Regions from separate parts of the Homo sapiens genome. Here region 2 is linked to region 1. The links are contacts of gene promoters, found by promoter capture Hi-C in blood cells and fetal thymus (Javierre and others, 2016). All regions are on one chromosome and are shown on one strand. Each heading gives the region's core, a stretch centred on a gene start or on the middle of the fragment in contact. The rest is flanking DNA. Distances are from core to core; before and after follow the strand shown. Region 1 holds the start of PUF60 (poly(U) binding splicing factor 60). Region 2 has its middle 2.4 kb from the start of EXOSC4.

Region 1 (3,450 bases), core at 251-2,750:
GAATGGCATTTTAGTTTTCATTTTTCTTCGGCTTCCTTTATCGTCTCTGTTTCTTCTGAGTCCCTTTTCTTCTTTCTCAGGTGTCTGGTGATCCTGGGCTGTCCAGCTGCATTGAAGAGTGAGATGCTTTTAGTGGCTGGGGCTTATGACCTGGTGAGCTTCGAGGCCAGGGATCTGGCTGGGCCATTCTACTGGGCAACACTCTACCCCTAGGTGCCCTGCCAGTCTTTTCTTTTGAGCTAGGAGCTGCTGCAGAGAGGAGCCCTCTTCTCTGAGAAGCCTGATGGCATGCGGGTGGTCAGACCCAGCCCAGGGGTGGAGGCAGGGGTAGGACCCAGAGTCTCACTTACTCCCAGGCTTTCAGACAGGGCCTTGCTTGAGCAGGGCCTCAGAGCTCCTCTCCTGGAGCTCACGTCTCAGACACTGCAGTGCCTGCCAGCCCCGGTGGGTAGGGACAGAGGTCTGGGGTTTCCTTTCTGTAGCTGTGCTTTCACCCACGACCCTCAGACACTGGCCTCCATAGCCAAGTGGGCTGGAGTAGCTCTCGCTGTCCACCTTTCTTAAGCTCTGCAATATCCCAGCTCTTTGCCCTTGCAGGGTTTGTCTTTATAAAACCCCTTTCCTATAATTTTGGAAGGTTTCAGGAGGGAGGCGGGGAATATTCTGCCCTATTTAAGTAGAAGTGTCTGTATTAAATTCTAAATGTTCCCAGGGTTGAAAGGAGGCCTGCCCGGGATGCCTTGTGGCCTTAGGCAGCTGAAGGTGCCTGAGCTTACAGATGTGGCTTCTTCGGATGACCGAGTTGGGGTCTCGGGACTGGGTGCAGCAGATGGCAAATGTCCAGGACAGGCAGCTTTCCCAGCAGTACTGACAGACACCTTGGGCCATGAAAGCCAGTTCAGGGACTAACGGGGCCTGCGGGCTGCGGGTCTAGCGACTGATGTCAGCCAACCTAGGGTCATCGGTTCCCTGGAAGGAGAAAAAGCTGCCAATTGAACGGGGCCTCCCGGTCCCAGGGATGTCGCGACGCGGGGACGACGCATCTCACGACGTCAGCCTGAAACACGCGGGCCTTTCATCACCCGAGACTCCTCCAGCCCAGGAGGGCCCCGCTCTTTCGCCTGCCTCCTGGGGGAGAGCCTCTGGACGACGCACGCGACAGCGTTTTCTCCAAAAAAGGCAGAGAAGAGAAGCGTAGCAGTGGCCGCAAGGGCGACGGGCGGCGAAGGGTACTACGCACGCCCGCGTCGGCCACGCGGAGAGATACGCCCGACTCGAGTCCCGCGGCGCACGCCCCTAGACGCCCGAGGTGCGCGGGCCACGCCCCTCGCCCGGCCAAGAGCACGCCCCTTCCGTCGCCCCTCCCGGGGGCGTTTACCGTTCCTCCCCGCCCCGGAAGCGCGTTCTTACCTCCTTCCTCGCGAGAGTTCCGTGCACCGGCACCCAGATCGCGCGAGACAGCGGAAGGAGCAAGAGTGGGAGGCGCGCGCGGAGGCCGCGACGGACGCAAGATGGCGACGGCGACCATAGCTCTCGTAAGTGAGCCCCCCCATGAGCGCGGGCGGCCCTCGGCTTGCGGGGCCGGGTCGTCGACCCAGCCTGGGCGCGGAGGGCCTCCCAAGAACGCGGCGGTCTTCCCAGGTCCCGCGCGGACTCCCTCGTGTCCCCGGGTCGCGTGAGGCGGGGGCGGGGCGGGCGCGCGCCGGCGGCCGGCTCGCGGCCTCAGCTTCCGGCCTGCGGACCCCAGCTTCCGGCGGGGCGGGGCGGGGGCCTGGGCGCGGCGTGTGGCCCTTGCGGGCGAGCCTGGCGGGGTTGCGTTCCTGTCCGCTAGGTCCGGCAAGCGGGGGTCGTCGTCCTCCCTTTGCCGACGGGGGTGTGCGCCGTGGTCACGACGGAAGCGGGGTTCTGGGGGTGACGCGTGGGCCTTCGGGTTGATGGGATCAGAAGGGGACGGGACCTGTAGAAAGGGGCCTGCAGCTCAGAGCATGGGGCGGCCTTGGCTCACTACGCCTGCAGCTGTGAATTCGTTCTCCGGTGCTGGAGAGGGATCTGGTTATCTCCATTCTCTTGTCTCCACGTGGAAAGGAAGGACGTGCGCTCTCATCCTACGTGTTTTGAGAAATCGCATTGTCCCCAGCTCTGCGGGAGGATCTGGGGACGCAGTGGGGAACCAGACAGGCAGTTGGAGGTCTAGTGCGCACCAGAAGCCAGTTCCCACCCAGGGTGCCATTTGCTGGGCGCCCTAGGGAGCTGCGTGGGCATCCAGAGGAGTGAGTCGCCCCCTGCTCTGCTCAGTGCCCACTTCCCCGGGCAGGGCAGGCGTTATTAACGTAGAGGGAGAACACCCATGCACACAACACATGCACGATGAAGTCTGGTCTTTCCTTCTCACCACTTAGCTTATAGGACCTAATCCCCTTTTGGACCTTTCTCAGCCGCAGTTTACCCCTGTATTACTTGTCACCCTTCCCCCAGCCCACACCCAGCGGGATGGGATAAGGTCTGTTTGAGAAGACAGCTTGGGCAAATGGCTGAAGGCTGGACTGGCAGGACCAGGGAGTGTCCTTAGACTGCCATTGCCAGGCCCCCAGCGGGCGGGCTGGTCCCATGTCCCACTGAGGCAGAAACCAGTTACTAGGGGGAGAGAGGCATTTACACAAGATACCCAGCTTGCGAGGGCAGCCCAGTGTGTGATTCACAGGACTGGCTAACTCCACTCTTTCTACTATGTCCTTTCTCTTGAAGCCACAGGAGTAAGTGACCTTTGAGGGGCACTCCAGAGAGAAAGGATGTAAGGGTTGAGGACCTGGTGACTGTCTTCAGGCAGCAGTCAGAGAGTTGATGGTGAAGGAGGAGGAGGCTCAGAGACAAGGACTGGACATGGGAAGGTGGAGGAGGAGAGTGGATGCCTGACTCCCCTAGCACCCGCAGAACAGCGCCCTGTGCTCATGAGGGTTAAATGGGGGCTCAGGTCTGCTGTGGCGTGGTGCCAGATAGGTGGTGTCATTGTTGAGTTGGACGTGGGCCATAACTGACCCCACGAACGGGTTGTCTGTTGGGGTGTTTGTTGCCATCCAAATTCTGTTGGGTTTAATACGTGTTTTTTTATCGTCAGGTTTCAGGCTTGCATCCGGCTCCAGGAGTGAGCTGTAGCCTGTGGTCTAACCCATTCCTCTTTTAATCATTGGGATGGAAAGGCTTCTAGAAGGGTTATCTGTTCCCACCGTCCTGGTTGGGCACAGTGATGAGAGCCTGTCCCCTGTCTCATGCTGCTTCAGCTCTCATGGGAGGTTGAATGGAGCAGCTGAACTTGGCTGACAGTGGCCTGGTGGGGAAGGAAGCCAGAAGATGCAGAAGGGCCTCCCCTCCCATGGGCATGCCTTCTGCCTGGTGGCTGCAGAATGAGGCCGGCTGCCTCTTTGCAGCAAGGGTAGGTCTTCTGGATGCATC
Region 2 (3,450 bases), core at 407-2,906, 250 kb before region 1:
AGATAGTTTGCACTTAGGATCTCTCCTACAGTTGCTGCCAGATGGTAGCTGGGGCTGCAGCCATCCTAAAGCTTTCTCCCTCACATCTTTGGTGGCTGATGCTGGTGGCGGGCCAGGACCTCATCTGTGCCTGTCAGGCAGCACACCTACATGTGGCTTCTCCATGCAACCAGGGCTTCCTTGCAGTATGGCAACTGGGTTCCAAGGGTAGCCTTCCAGGACAACAAGGTGGACAACATGTGCATGGTATTTTTAGGACCTAACCTCAGAAGTCACATAGTGTCCCTCCTGCCACACTCTGTGGGTCAAGGCAGTCAGACAGATCTGCCCAGGCTTAAGGGATGAGGACAGGGACCCCACCCTTCAGTGGGAGGAGTGTCAATATTAGACTGTAGGAAGAGCAGGCGGGCTAGGGAAATGTGGTCTGCTGCAGGGGCCCAAGTTCAGTTGTCACAGCATCCCCTCCAAGGTGGTTAAGCTCTCCTGAAAGACTGAGGCATGAGAGTGAGTGAGCAAGCCACAACCCTGCTGCTGCAGCTGGTCTGAGGCCATGATGGGTCACCACCCTCTGCCACTTGCCACCCCGGATTCCCCACCCTCTGCTCTACAGCCACTCTGCTTATTGTGGAGCCCTTTTCCCCTTTCAGTCTGAGCTCTTACTGTCCCTGTTCTTACTGAGTCATCGTTTTTTTCGTTTGTTTCTTTGTTTTGTTTTGTTTTTTGAGATGGAGTCTTACTCTGCACCCAGGCTAGAGTGCCGTGGCACAATGTCAGCGCACTGCACCCTCCACCTCCAGGGTTCAAGTGATTCTTCTATCTCAGCCTCCCAAGTAGCTGGGAAGGTGGGATTACAGGCACCTGCCACTATGCCTGGCTAAGGTTTTTTTTTTTTTTTTGGAGATGGAGTCTCACTGTCACCCAGGCTGGAGTGCAGTGGCACAATCTCAGCTCACTGCAACCTCCACCTCCTGGGTTCAAACGATTCTCCTACCTCAGCCTCCCAGGTAGCTGGGATTACAGGCATGCACCACCATGCCCTGCTAACTTTTTTTTTGTAGTTTTAGTAGAGATGGGGTTTCACCATGTTGACCAGGCTGATCTTGAACTCCTGACCTCAGGTGATCCACCTGCCTCGGCCTCCCGCCACCACGCATGGCCATTACTGGGTTGTCCACTGACAGTCCTTGCCGCATGCGGGAAGACTAGACGCCCAGGGAGCTCTGTGGACTGCCCACCCCAGTTGTGTAGCATTGACCGTAGCAACTCAGGACAATGAGGACGATGTTGGTCTTCAGCCTAAGGTGTCCAAAGTGGGCCAGTGATAGCCGCTACTTCAAGATCAGTGGAACCTTTGCTGTGTTCCCTGGTGGAAGTATTCATCTTCAGGAACCAGGCCTCCAACCTGGCAGCATTACAGGTTTAGGATTATGGGGCCACTCCTACCTCACACCTTTGGTTCTCTGACCCTCGTACTCCAGCTTTAGGGTACACACATGGGTCGATTCAAATTTTGGAGGCCTAAAGCTTATACAAATTCAGGGGCCGTGAGAGGTATCCCCAAGACCCCTCCAGAGTAACCGATTTGCTAGAAGGACTCACTATAGACTTGTCTTCACGCCTAAGATTATTACACAGAGAGGATATAAGTCTGAATCAGCAAAGAGAAAAGGTGCATGGGATGAATTCCACAGGAAATCAGGCGTGAGCTGGCCACGTCCTCTCCTGGTGGACTCCACGGGAAGAAGCTGGAGCCGTGTGTGTGAAATGCTGTCTGCCAGGGAAGCTTCTTAGACACTCAGCGCCCTGGGGTTTTATGGAGGGCTGGTCACATACACAGTCTGTGCCAAGCATGTGCCCAAATTCCAGACCCCTAGAAGCAACACAGGTGTTCAGCATGAGCCATATTTGTACAAACAGTCTAGGCACAGTGAGACACGCTTACCAGAGAGTGGGGGAACCATGAAAAACCCAAGTTCCCAGACACCCACTCTTCAAACTTGCCTGTGAAGAAGAGCTTCTCAGGCCTGCTGTTAACTCTTCTATGCAGTCTTCTTTTGAAACATAAGACAAAATTGTATATCCAAAACTAAGTGAATAGTGAGAAAAGAAGTCCCAACACATAACAAACATTTTAAAAGTTGTCAAATACTACAAACATCACAAAATGCAGAAAACCTGCCTGACATATTTGACTCCAACAGGTTTCCCCTACATTTCTTTGATGCGTTCTCTGATGCTCTCTTAAGATGACAACACCTTTTTATAACGTAACCTTCTATATGTAGAAAGAATATGGCAGACGCGGTGCTCGCGCTTGTAATCCCAGCACTTTTGGGAGGCAGAGGCAGGCGGATCACTTGAGCCTAGGAGTTCAAGATCAGCTTGGACAACATGGCAAAACCCCATCTCTACAAAAAATGCAAAAAATCAGCTGGACATGGGCCGGGCGCGGTGGCTCACGCCTGTAATCCCAGCACTTTGGGAGGCCGAGGCGGGCAGATCACGAGGTCAGGAGATCGAGACCATCCTGGCCAACACGGTGAAACCCTGACTCTACTAAAAATATCAAAAATTAGCCGGGCGTGGTGGCGGGCACCTGTAGTCCCAGCTACTCGGGAGGCTGAGGCAGGAGAATGGCGTGAACCCAGGAGGCGGAGGTTGCAGTGAGCCGAAATCGCACCACTGCACTCCAGCCTGGGCGACAGAGCGAGACTCTGTCTCAAAAAAAAAAAAAAATTAACTGGACATGGTGGTGCATACCTGTGGTCCCAGCTACTTGGGAGGTGGAGGTGGGAGGCTCACTTGAGCCCAGGAGGTCAAGGCTGCAGTAAGCTGTGGTCACACCACTGCACTCCAGCCTGGGCAACAGAATGAGACCCTGTCAAAACAAAAAACAAATAAACAAAAACCAAGAAAATGATTTAGTTTCTCCTCTCACATGTTTGATCAAAATTTAATTTTATTACTAATAATTAAGTTGCTTTCAGGTAAAAGCTCCTTTGGGTAATATGTACATTTTTAGAATTGTCATTAAATTGGAGGAAACCGCTTATCAAATTTCTTCCACATATGAGCCATAACAGTTCAGGGCTTGGCTGGGTGAGGTAGCTCGTGCCTGTAATCCAACACTTTGGGAAGCTGAGGCAGGAGGATCGCTTGAGGCCAGGTGTCCGAGACCAGCCTGGGCAACATAGTGACACACTATCTCTACAAAAAAAAATTTAAAAATTAACTGGGTATGGTGGCACACGCCTGTAGTTCCAGCTACTTGAGAGACTGAGACGGGAGGGTGGCCTGAGCCGAGGGAGTTGGAGGATGCTGTGAGCTATGATCGTGCCACGGTACTCCTGCCCATACCACAGAGCCAGGCTGTCTCAAAAAAACAAACCAAAAAACCCAGAACCACCCCCCGCCCCAAAAAAATGAATTTGAGTTTGGGTTTTCTTGTTT

What was found. The method cuts DNA at HindIII sites, captures the fragments that hold promoters and counts their contacts. A CHiCAGO score of 5 or more calls a contact.
Region 2: a fragment that was not itself captured here is called in contact with the fragment with the promoter of PUF60 in region 1 in 1 of 17 cell types (non-activated CD4 T cells); the score reaches 6.2 in non-activated CD4 T cells.

What each region holds. Positions count from the first base shown.
Region 1 is chr8:143,827,365-143,830,814 of GRCh38, reverse strand. It overlaps PUF60 (poly(U) binding splicing factor 60), which reads left to right and starts at 1,500. Exons shown (of 12, transcript NM_078480.3): 1 at 1,500-1,535. The coding sequence starts at 1,512. LOC107986985 (a long non-coding RNA gene) reads right to left here and starts at 1,535. Exons shown (of 3, transcript XR_001746138.2): 1 at 1,411-1,535; 2 at 777-969; 3 at 1-106. It also overlaps a transcript of NRBP2 not described here. RefSeq lists enhancers at 209-1,408, 729-1,428 and a silencer at 1,213-1,782. The HindIII fragment of the contact is 7,973 bases long and covers 1-3,450 here.
Region 2 is chr8:144,074,516-144,077,965 of GRCh38, reverse strand. It overlaps a transcript of EXOSC4 not described here. Among named protein-coding and RNA genes, the nearest start is that of EXOSC4, 2.4 kb to the left of the region's middle. The HindIII fragment of the contact is 259 bases long and covers 1,527-1,785 here.